3 separate regions of the Homo sapiens genome follow, and regions 2 and 3 are each linked to region 1. Evidence: promoter capture Hi-C in human tissues and cell types (Jung and others, 2019). All regions are on one chromosome and are shown on one strand. The core of a region is centred on a gene start or on the middle of the fragment in contact, and the rest is flanking DNA. Distances in the headings are between cores, read along the strand shown.

Region 1 (3,089 bases), core at 2-2,501:
AAGTGTGTTTTGTTTCACACACTGACACATAGACAATACACATTCTTACTTCTTTTCAAAAAGTTAATATGTGAATATAAATGACATATTCCAAATTTACTAAACTGAATACACATTTCATGAAAAAGGAGAGAGGAAAGACATACTAAAAACAGGCCAGGGCCTGGTGTGGTGGCTCACGCCTGTAACACCACCACTTTGGGAGGCCGAGGCAGGTGGATCACCTGAGGTCAGGAGTTCAAGACCAGCCTGGCCAACATGGTAAAACCTTGTCTCTACAAAAATACAAAAATTAGCCGGGCATGATGGTGGGTGCCTGAAATCCCAGCTATTCGGGAGGCTGAGGCGAGAGAATCATTTGAACCCGGGAGGCGGAGGTTGTAGTGAGCCGAGATCGCACCGTTGCACTCCAGCCTGGGCGACAGAGTGAGACTCCATCTCAAAAACAAACAAACAAACAAAAAAACAACAACAAAAGACAAAGATGGACACACTTCGTTGTGTTAAAAGCCTCAAAGACATCTGCATCATTCTAGCTTTGCTCCTAATTTTTAAAATTAATGATTTTAATAGGTTCTTAATTAGGTAAAAACTGCATTAAAACATACTTTGCCATATTTTTCCCAGAAGGATACCTAATTGGGTGGTTTGAGGGGTGCCAGATGTAACAGGAAATAAGACATGTCTTTTAAATAAAGGAAAAGCTCAAAGGCATCCTGCTTGATACTAGAATCAAATATATAAATTGAGGAATAAAACATAACCGGGAAACACATTTATAACTGCATATGAAAAATACAGAGGAGAATTTTTTAATAAAATATATTTTTAAATATTAACTAGTACATTTGAGAGGACAGCATTCAACAGGCCAATGTGAACATACCTTTAATGCAGGAACTCAGGTTCCCCATAAGAAAGACCAGAATCTGTGAAAATGACAGCAAGCATGTTCAACCTGCTATGAACTTTGAAAAACTCAGCACAGACAGTGGCAGTTAGGACCGAGGGCAAGATATACCCAATCACATAACCATGGTGATAGGAGCATCATCAACGTCTCAGGGTAAAGTCACAATGTGTATTGTGAGGTCCGCTTTCTGCTGCACCAACAAGAGTGCTTTCACACGCACAGGAGGGTCATTAAAGATTAGGCCTTTTACGGCAGGGAGTGGTGGCTCACACCTGTAATCCCAGCACTTTGGGAGGCCGAGGTGGGTGGATCACGAGGTCAGGAGATAGAGACCATCCTGGCTAACATGGTGAAACCCCGTCTGTACTAAAAACACAAAAAATTAGCCGGGCGTGGTGGCGGGAGCCCCCAGCTACTCGGGAGGCTGACGCAGGAGAATGGCGTGAACCCGGGAGGCGGAGCTTGCAGTGAGCCGACATAGCGCCACTGCACTCCAGCCTGGGCGACAGAGCGAGACTCCGTAAAAAAATAAAATAAAATAAAATAAAATAAAAGATTAGGCGTTTTACTTAAAAAAAAAACAACAAAACCCAAGCTCATTAATTACTATTCTGTGCTTATTAAAATAAGTTTTAGGAGGAGAAATTGTGTACCCCAAAATACACTCAATGGCAAGAATTTCAAACTGAGCAGGGGCAAAACCGATATGTTAGTAACAACCAGAAGTTCCATTCTCGATTCGAAATTCCATTGCCAAATATTTCTACCATTCCTGAGTCATCTAATATTTCTAGAACCAATAAGCAAACTGTTCAGAATTAAAGACAGCATAAATGGATATTGTTATAAAAGTCATGTTTCTTAAAAAGTGACATTTTTTAAAGTCACATTTTAAAAGTCATATTTCCCTAAAAAGTCATATTTCTACCATTCCTGAGTGATCTAATGTTTCTAGAAGCAATAAACTGTTCAGAATTAGAAAAAAGTGTTACTTGATATTATAAAAATCATATTTCTCTCACAATATAATTATGAAACTTATTTTTCCACTTATCTCTATATATTACTATGCACTTATTTATCTCCCAAACTTTGTGAATTCACAGAGGAATTTGTCTACCATTGTGTATGTAAACGGCTGGCCATTCACTGAGTATTTAAAGGAAAAAAAAATCACTATATTTTCACCAGTGCATCTTCTCGGTGGGGTGAACACTTTGGGTGAATACATATAATTTTTTATTTGAGACAGGGTCTCACTCTGTCACTCAGGCTGGAGTGCAGTGGCTTGATCATGGCTCACTGCAGCCTTGACCTCCCAGGCTCAGGTGATCCTCCCAACTCAGCCTCCCATGTAGCTGGGACTACAGGTTCTTGCCGCCATGCTCAGCTAATATTTTGTAGAGATGGGGTTTTTCCATGGTGCCCAGGCTGGTCTTCAACTCTTGGATTCAAGCAATCCACCCACCTCGACCTCCCAAAGTATTGGGATTAGAGGCGTGAACCACCATGCCCAGCCTAATACATATAATTAAAGTGTTTCTGAATGCAGAATTTTAGATAACTTTCAAAATGTATAACTACGTGTGTATTCTGGCTGATACATAACACCCAATTGCAAATACTTTTATGATATGCCCAAGAAAACAAGCTGTTGAAAGTGACCTGCCCTAAAATAAATAGAACAAATGAAAATTTTAGGGTTAAGATGAGAGAGTTGCTATGTTTCAAAGAGAATAGGTACCCTTCATGATATAAATATTACAGTACAAATGTCTATCATTGCTAAGTACAAATTTCTAGAACAAATAAATAGGTCACAAATGATGTATACAATCTGCATTAATATAGATGATGCTATATTTTGTCCAGTGATTATAAAACAGAGGGTGTAATGGGGTAGGTGCTGAAAGAATAGGTCATTCTGTGTTGTTATAAACAGAAAATTTCAATGGCTTCCAGATTGAACAAATATATGTATATACACAAATTATACACACACACACACGATACTATAGTTATATGTGTATGTGTTTGTATACTCAGAAATGCAGCAAACTAAAAAAAAACTTTAACAATCCCCACAGATTCATGCTTCTGAATGCTCAAATGGAGGAGAAAATTTAAAAAGAAGTGGAAAATATAGTGAGAAAATCTACTCATCCTATTGGAGGAG
Region 2 (3,276 bases), core at 191-2,690, 510 kb after region 1:
ACCCCCAGAACTTTGGTAGGCCAAGGCGGGCGGATCACGAGGTCAGGAGACAGACCATCCTGGCCAACATGGTGAAATCCTGTCTTTACTAAAAATACAAAAATTAGCTGGGTGTGGTGGCACGTGCCTGTAATTTCAGCTACTCAAGAGGCTGAGGCAGGAGAATAGCTTGAACCAGGGAGTCGGAAGTTGCAGTGAGCCAAGATCACGCCACTGCACTCCAGCCTGGCGACAGAGCGAGACTGTCTCAAAAAAAAGAAAAGAAAAGAAAATCATTTCATATCAGTACAAATGGAGATGCTTCTTTATTTATAATTGTATCTCATTATGTGGCTCGACCGTAATTTATTTAACCAGTTCCCTACAGATGGACAGTTAGGTTGTTTCTAAGCTTTAGCTATTAACAAACACTTCCGAGAATGAAACTAATCTTAACACTTACATAGTGTATAATTTCAATTGCCTGCCACTAATTTTGAATGGAATGTCATGTATAAAAGCATTCATAAGAATTTTATGCACCATGGAGTTGGGTGCAAAAAAAAAAAAGACTTTTGACAGTATCTGCTTATATCTTCTGAATATGAAGATGATTTTGGCTGCAAATAACAGTGATGACTAAATCAATAAAGAAAATGCATGAGCTCATATCACTGAGCTAGGGCAATCACAGGGCCGAGTAAATCAGAGGCTCAATGTCAGACTCAAGGATCTAAATGTTTTGTGTCCTTCTGACTCTTGTTCTCAAGGATGGACTTTTGTTCTCATACTGTTCCTTCACGTTATCAGTGAGCCACCCTGGTGCCCCGGGCCATACCCTCATGCCTATGAAAAAGAGTCTCTTTCTTGTGTCGCTTTTAAGAAGCATGGTGGATGTTCCAGAATCCTCCCGGCAGGTACATCTCAGGCCTCCCTGGTCAGAACTGCATCATCTTCCCTTTCCTTTTTTTTTTTGAGATAGAGTCTCGCTCTGTTGCCCAGGCTGGAATGCAGTGGCACGATCTCAGCTCACCACAATCTCCACCTCCTGGGTTCAATCGATTCTCCTGCCTCAGCCTCCCGAGTAGCTGGGACTACAGGCGCCCACCACCATGCCCAGCTAATTTTTGTATTCTTAGTAGAGATGGGGTTTCACCATGTTGGCTGGGCTGGTCTGGAACTCCTGACTTAAGGTGATCCGCCCACCTCTGCCTCCCAAAGTGCTGGGATTACAGGCATGAGCCACTGCACCAGGCCCATATTCCCTTTTCTAAACACCTTTCCCAGTGGGAACAGAATGACCACAGCTGGCTGAAACGAACCAGGATTCACCTCATGGCACCAGAAAGGGGCCTATGTTTCCTTGAAGCACATGGCCACCAAACAGCTGAATAAACTCAGGATTTGGCAAGCATGAAAGAAGGCGGGCAACCAACAGTAGACAGCACACCTTCCGAAACCTTTATTTTCATGGACAGCCATATGTTGTTCTTGTAAAGAACTGGCTCATAAGCTTGTGTGTTTTAAAGAACAATATTGCTAAGTGTGTTTACAATGACACACATGGGTAAATTTTAAAAATGCAATAGTAACTCTTAAAATCTGCTACAAGACTTTAATGAGGTCTGGCAACCCCTTGACCTGGAATCAGAACACATAAGCTTGAGAACTCAGTCACTTCTGCGAGGTCGTGAGAATGTTTCTCTAGCTCTCCAAGCCTTGCGTTTCTCCCTGTGAAAATGGCAGCTTCGAGGAGAATTAGGGGTCATGCATAAAGGAAAAGAGAAGGGGCTTTGCAGTTAGACCTGGCTTAGGATCCCGGCTCCCCCAGCTGTGCGACTCTGGACACGTTTTGAGCTTCAGTTTCCTCATCGGTAAAAAGGGGATAAAAATGTGCAATTCATAGAGCCATTTAAAAATATATACTTTATAAAGGCATGATTTGCATAAAATAAAATGCACCCATTTGAAACGTAGTTTGATTTGCTTCGACATATGTAACACTAATATAATCATCATGCCAAATAAAAGATATACTTTCATCACCTTCACAGGTGACTTGTGTCCCTCTACTGTCAATCCCCTGCCCCTTATTCCCTTGGCCCTGGGCAACCACTGATGTTTCAGTGACTATGGATTAGTTTTGCCTGTTCTAGAATTTCATGTCAGTGGAATCATGAAATGTGTACTCTTTTGTCTCTAGTCTTTTTTTCCTCAACATAATGGCTTTGAGATTTGTCTGCATAGTTACGTGCTGCCAAGTATGGACTGGAAGGCAGCCCGCAGGACCCTGCCTCTCATGTTCAAGCCCTTACATGCTTCTCCCCCGGAGGGGGTGGGATCTGTGACTGGTTTGCTGAATACGGCAAAGGAGATGGGTTGGCACCCCATGATAATGCTACGTCAGATAAGTCTCAGTCTTGCTCCCAGATGTATTCTTGTTCTCCCTTGCTTTGAAGTAACAAGCTGCCATGTTATAGAAAGACCCATGGAAAGGCCCACATGACTCATGCTTGTAATCCCAGTACTTTGGGAGGTCAAGGTGGGAGGATCGCTTGAGTTCAGGAGTTCAAGACCAGCCTGGGCAACATAGTGAGACCTCATCTCTACCAAAAATAAACAATATTATCCGGGCATGGTGATGCACATCTGTAGTCCCAGCTACTTGGGAGGCTGAGGTGGGAGGATCACTTGAGCCCAAGAGTTTGAGGCTGCTGCAAGCTATGATCACTCCACTGCACTTCAGCCTAGGCAACAGCGAGACCGTGTCTCAGAAAAGAAAAAAAAAAAAGAACTGTGTGCAACTTCCCGCTGATAACCAGCAAGAAGCCAAGGCCCTTAATCTCACAGTCACAAGAAAAATGACTTGTGCCAACAACCCAAGCGAGCTTGGAAGTGGTTCCATTGCCAGTTGAGCTTCCAGATAAGAACTGAGCCCCAGATGACAATCTTGATGTCAGTCTTACAGAAGACTCAGCTAAGCCATGCCCAGCCCCTGGCCCCCACAAACTGTGAGATAATAAATATGTGTTGTTTGAAGCTGATAAGTTTGTAGACAACTAATATACATCTCTTAGTAGTTTGTTCCCTTTTATCCCCAAGAAGCATTCCCTTATGTGCATGTACCACATTTTGTTTATTGTTCACGAGTTGACAGGCATTTGGGTTGTCTCCAGATTGGGGCTATGATGAATAAAGTTGCTATGAAGATTCTTATAAAAGTCATTTAGATAACATATTTCATTTTTCTTGGGGAAAGGTCTAGAGGAGAATGGTTGGCTCATACGGTGCCTATAT
Region 3 (3,482 bases), core at 983-3,482, 610 kb before region 1:
ACTAAGTTCTGCATCAATATAGTGACCTCCCAGGAGTGGGGGACCACCAGCTTGCCTTAGGAAGTGTGAACCACCTCAGGTTGGGAACAGAGCAGGTCAAAACTCCTGTGCTGATCAGCAGTGGGATTGTCCCTGTAAATAGCCACTGTACGCCAGCCTAGGCAACAGCAAGACCTTATCTCTAAAAGAAAACAAAAAAATTTGGGAGTAAGCCAATGTTTCATTTTACTAGGCTAAATTTTTGTTGGGTCTGATTATATTTGAAATCTAGATAAACTTAATTGTCATGATATTAGCATAATTAAAGGTGATGTCTTTCCTTGCAAATTAAAACAGCAAAACAGTCATTCTGTCTTTATGCTTCTGAGTTTGCAATATTTGATAGAGTTCTCCCCATCCCTAGTAGAGGGGCAGGGGTAGATAAACATGAAACCACATCCCTCTTATTTTATTTATTTATTTTTTTGAGATGCAGTCTCTTTCTGTCACTCAGGCTGGAGTGCAGTGGTGTGATTTCGGCTCACTGTAACCTCTGCCTCCCGGGTTCAAGTGATTCTCCTGCCTCAGGCTCCCAAGTAGCTGGGATTACAGGCTCCCACCACCACACCTGGCTAATTTTTGTATTTTTAGTAGAGACGGGGTTTCGCCATGTTCGCCAGGCTGGTCTTGAACTCCTGACCTCAGGTGATCTGTCCATCTCGGCCTCTCAAAGTATTGGGATTACAGGCATGAGCCACTGCTCCTGGACTCTCTGAGGTTATTTTCTTACTCCTGTTAGATCTAAAGATTTATTGTGACGGTCACATTAAGACACTGTTTGGGAAATTCTTTGAACATTGAATAACTGTAACGAATTGTGCTGTATCTGTGGGAACCAGCCTGTTTTGTTCCTGTTATATGCCAGATACACAATATTTGAGGGGGTAAAAGGCTGTCCAGAAGCCTAATTCCCAGATACTAAGGGCTGCTCTGCCCCTGGAAGCAGTGCGGTAGTAGAAAGGGCACAGGGTATGGAGACAAAGGTACCTGAGCGCCATCCCACTCTGCTGCTGTGTAGCTTGGTGTTCCTGTGTGAATCCATTAGTCATTGTAAGCCTCGTTTCAAAATAGAACCTCATCTGTCAATGGGGTGGCAATACCATCCTGATGGGGTTGTGAGGAACCAGTATGAGAACATACAGTGTACCTAATGAGTGTTTTTCTACTTGAAGTGGCTGAATTGTCTTTCAGATGATGAGCTAGTTGTGAACCCCAAAGTGTTCCCTCACATCAAGCTTGGAGACATTGTAGAGATTGCACACCCCAACGATGAATACAGGTGAGTGTCTCATAGGATCCATGGAACTGGGCAATTCACTGTTTCCAAATGATGTCCAAGGCAGATAGCTCTCTTTGCCTTTCAAAATGCTCATGCTGTGATGGCTCAATCCTGTAATTCCAGCACTTTGGGAGGCTGAGGTGGGTAGGTCATTTGAGCCCGGGAGTTCGAGACCAGCCTGGGCAACATAGAGGGACCCTGTCTTAAAAAAAAATGATCATGCCTTCTAGGATTTGATCAACAAATAATTTTTCAAAAGTGGTCCATTCCTTCGTTTTTTTTTTTTTGAGATGGAGTCTAGCTCTGTCACCCAGGCTAGAGTGCAGTTGTGTAATCTCAGCTCACTGCAACCTCTGCCTCCCAGCCCCAAGTGATTGTCCTGCCTCAGCCTCCTGAGTAGCTGAGATTACAGGCTCAGCCTCCCGAGTAGCTGAGATTACAGGCATGCGCCATCACGCCCAGCTAATTTTGCATTTTTGGTAGAGACAGGGTTTCACCATGTTGCCCAGGCTGGTCTTGAACTCCTGACCTCAGGTAATCCACTGGCCTTGGCCTCCCAATGTGCTGGGATTACAGGTATGAGGCACCGCACCTGGCCTAATTTTTGTGTTTTTTAGTAGAGATGGGGTTTCACCATATTGTCCAGGCTTGTCTCAAGTCATCCATCCTGCTAGGCCTCCCAAAGTGCTGAGATTACAGGCATGAGCCACCATACCGAGCCGTTTTTTTTGTTTTTTTTGTTTTTTTTTGTTTTTTTTGAGATGAAATCTCACTCTGTCACCCAGGCTGAAGTGCAGTGGTGGGATCTTGGCTCACTGCAATCTCTGTCTTCCGGGTTCAAGCCATTCTCCTGCCTCAGCCTCCTGAGTAGCTGGGATTACAGGCGCGTGCCACCATGCTTGGCTAATTTTTGTATTTTTAGTAGAGACGGGGTTTCACCATGTTGGTCAGGCTGGTTTCGAACTCCTGACCTCGTGATCCGCCTGCCTTGGCCTCTTAAAGTGCTAGGATTACAGGCATGAGCTACCTTGCCGCGCCCAGCCTTTTTTTTTTTTTTTTTTTTTTAAGAGACAGAGTCTCGCTCTGTCACCCAGGCTGGAGTGCAGTGGTGCCACCTCGGCTCACTGCAACCTCTGCCTCCTGGGTTCAAGTGACTCTTCTGCCTCAGCCTGTCGAGTAGCTGGAACTACAGGTGTGGGCCACCACACCTGGCTAATTTTTGTATTTTTAATAGAGACAGGGTTTCGTCATGTTGGCCAGGCTGGTCTCGAACTCCTGACCTCAGGTGATCCACCTGCCTTGGCCTCCCAAAGTGTTGGGATTATAGGCATGAGCCACCGAGCCCAGCCTCTTTCTGGTTTTAAAGCTGAGATGACAACTGAAAGGTTCTGTAGCATTTGTCCATTTCCTTTAGTGCGTATGGAGTTTCTTTGTTTCTTTTTTTTTTTTTGTGAGACGGAGTCTTGCTCTGTCGCCCAGGCTGGAGTGCAGTGGCACAATCTTGGCTCACTGCAAGCTCCACCTCCCGGGTTCACGCCATTCTCCTGCCTCAGCCTCCCAAGTAGCTGGGACTACAGGCGCCCACCACTATGCCCGGCTAATTTTTTTGTATTTTTAGGAGAGACGGGGTTTCACTGTGTTAGCCAGGATGGTCTCGATCTCCTGACCTCATGATCCGCCCGTCTCGGCCTCCCAAAGTGCTGGGATTACAGGCATGAGCCACCACACCCGGCCTAATTTTTTCTATTTTTTAGTAGAGAAGGGGTTTCACCGTGTTAGCCAGGATGGTCTCGATCTCCTGACCTCGTGGTCCACCTGCCTCGGCCTCCCAAAGTGCTGGGATTACAGGCGTGAGCCACCGCACCTGGCCGAGTTTCTTTGTTTCTGAGGGAGCTTTCTCCCGTTGTTGTGCTGTAAGTCACAGAATGGCCAGAGTGACCTATTTGCCTTTTGTCGGGGATGAAGGTTGCTAGGGAGTTACTGTTCACGGTATCCCAACTCTCTTGTTGCTTTCTTTTTCAGCCCTCTGCTTTTGCAGGTCAAGTCTCTTAAGGAAGATTTACAGAAGGGTAAGAATTATATCACTCTTCTTAGAATTTTTTATTTACTGCCTCAGAAACTGTAAGAAATCTCTCTTCATAATTTCAAGGGATGAGGGCAAGTA

The links. The method cuts DNA at HindIII sites, captures the fragments that hold promoters and counts their contacts. A contact is called where the count stands out against the background at its distance.
Region 2: a fragment that was not itself captured here is called in contact with the fragment with the promoter of RFPL3S in region 1 in 4 of the 25 tissues and cell types used here (bladder, dorsolateral prefrontal cortex, mesenchymal stem cells and 1 more).
Region 3: a fragment that was not itself captured here is called in contact with the fragment with the promoter of RFPL3S in region 1 in 1 of the 25 tissues and cell types used here (dorsolateral prefrontal cortex).

Annotation. Positions count from the first base shown.
Region 1 is chr22:32,370,013-32,373,101 of GRCh38, forward strand. It overlaps RFPL3S (RFPL3 antisense), which reads right to left and starts at 1,252. Exons shown (of 5, transcript NR_104232.1): 1 at 1,186-1,252; 2 at 887-929. The HindIII fragment of the contact is 22,540 bases long and covers 1-3,089 here.
Region 2 is chr22:32,884,625-32,887,900 of GRCh38, forward strand. All of the region lies in intron 4 of SYN3 (synapsin III), which reads right to left. Among named protein-coding and RNA genes, the nearest start is that of TIMP3, 85 kb to the left of the region's middle. RefSeq lists a silencer at 2,496-2,706. The HindIII fragment of the contact is 3,491 bases long and covers 1-3,186 here.
Region 3 is chr22:31,757,316-31,760,797 of GRCh38, forward strand. It overlaps DEPDC5 (DEP domain containing 5, GATOR1 subcomplex subunit), which reads left to right. Exons shown (of 43, transcript NM_001242896.3): 3 at 1,231-1,318; 4 at 3,341-3,387. It also overlaps the pseudogene RN7SL20P. Among named protein-coding and RNA genes, the nearest start is that of DEPDC5, 5.0 kb to the left of the region's middle. The HindIII fragment of the contact is 5,617 bases long and covers 1-3,482 here.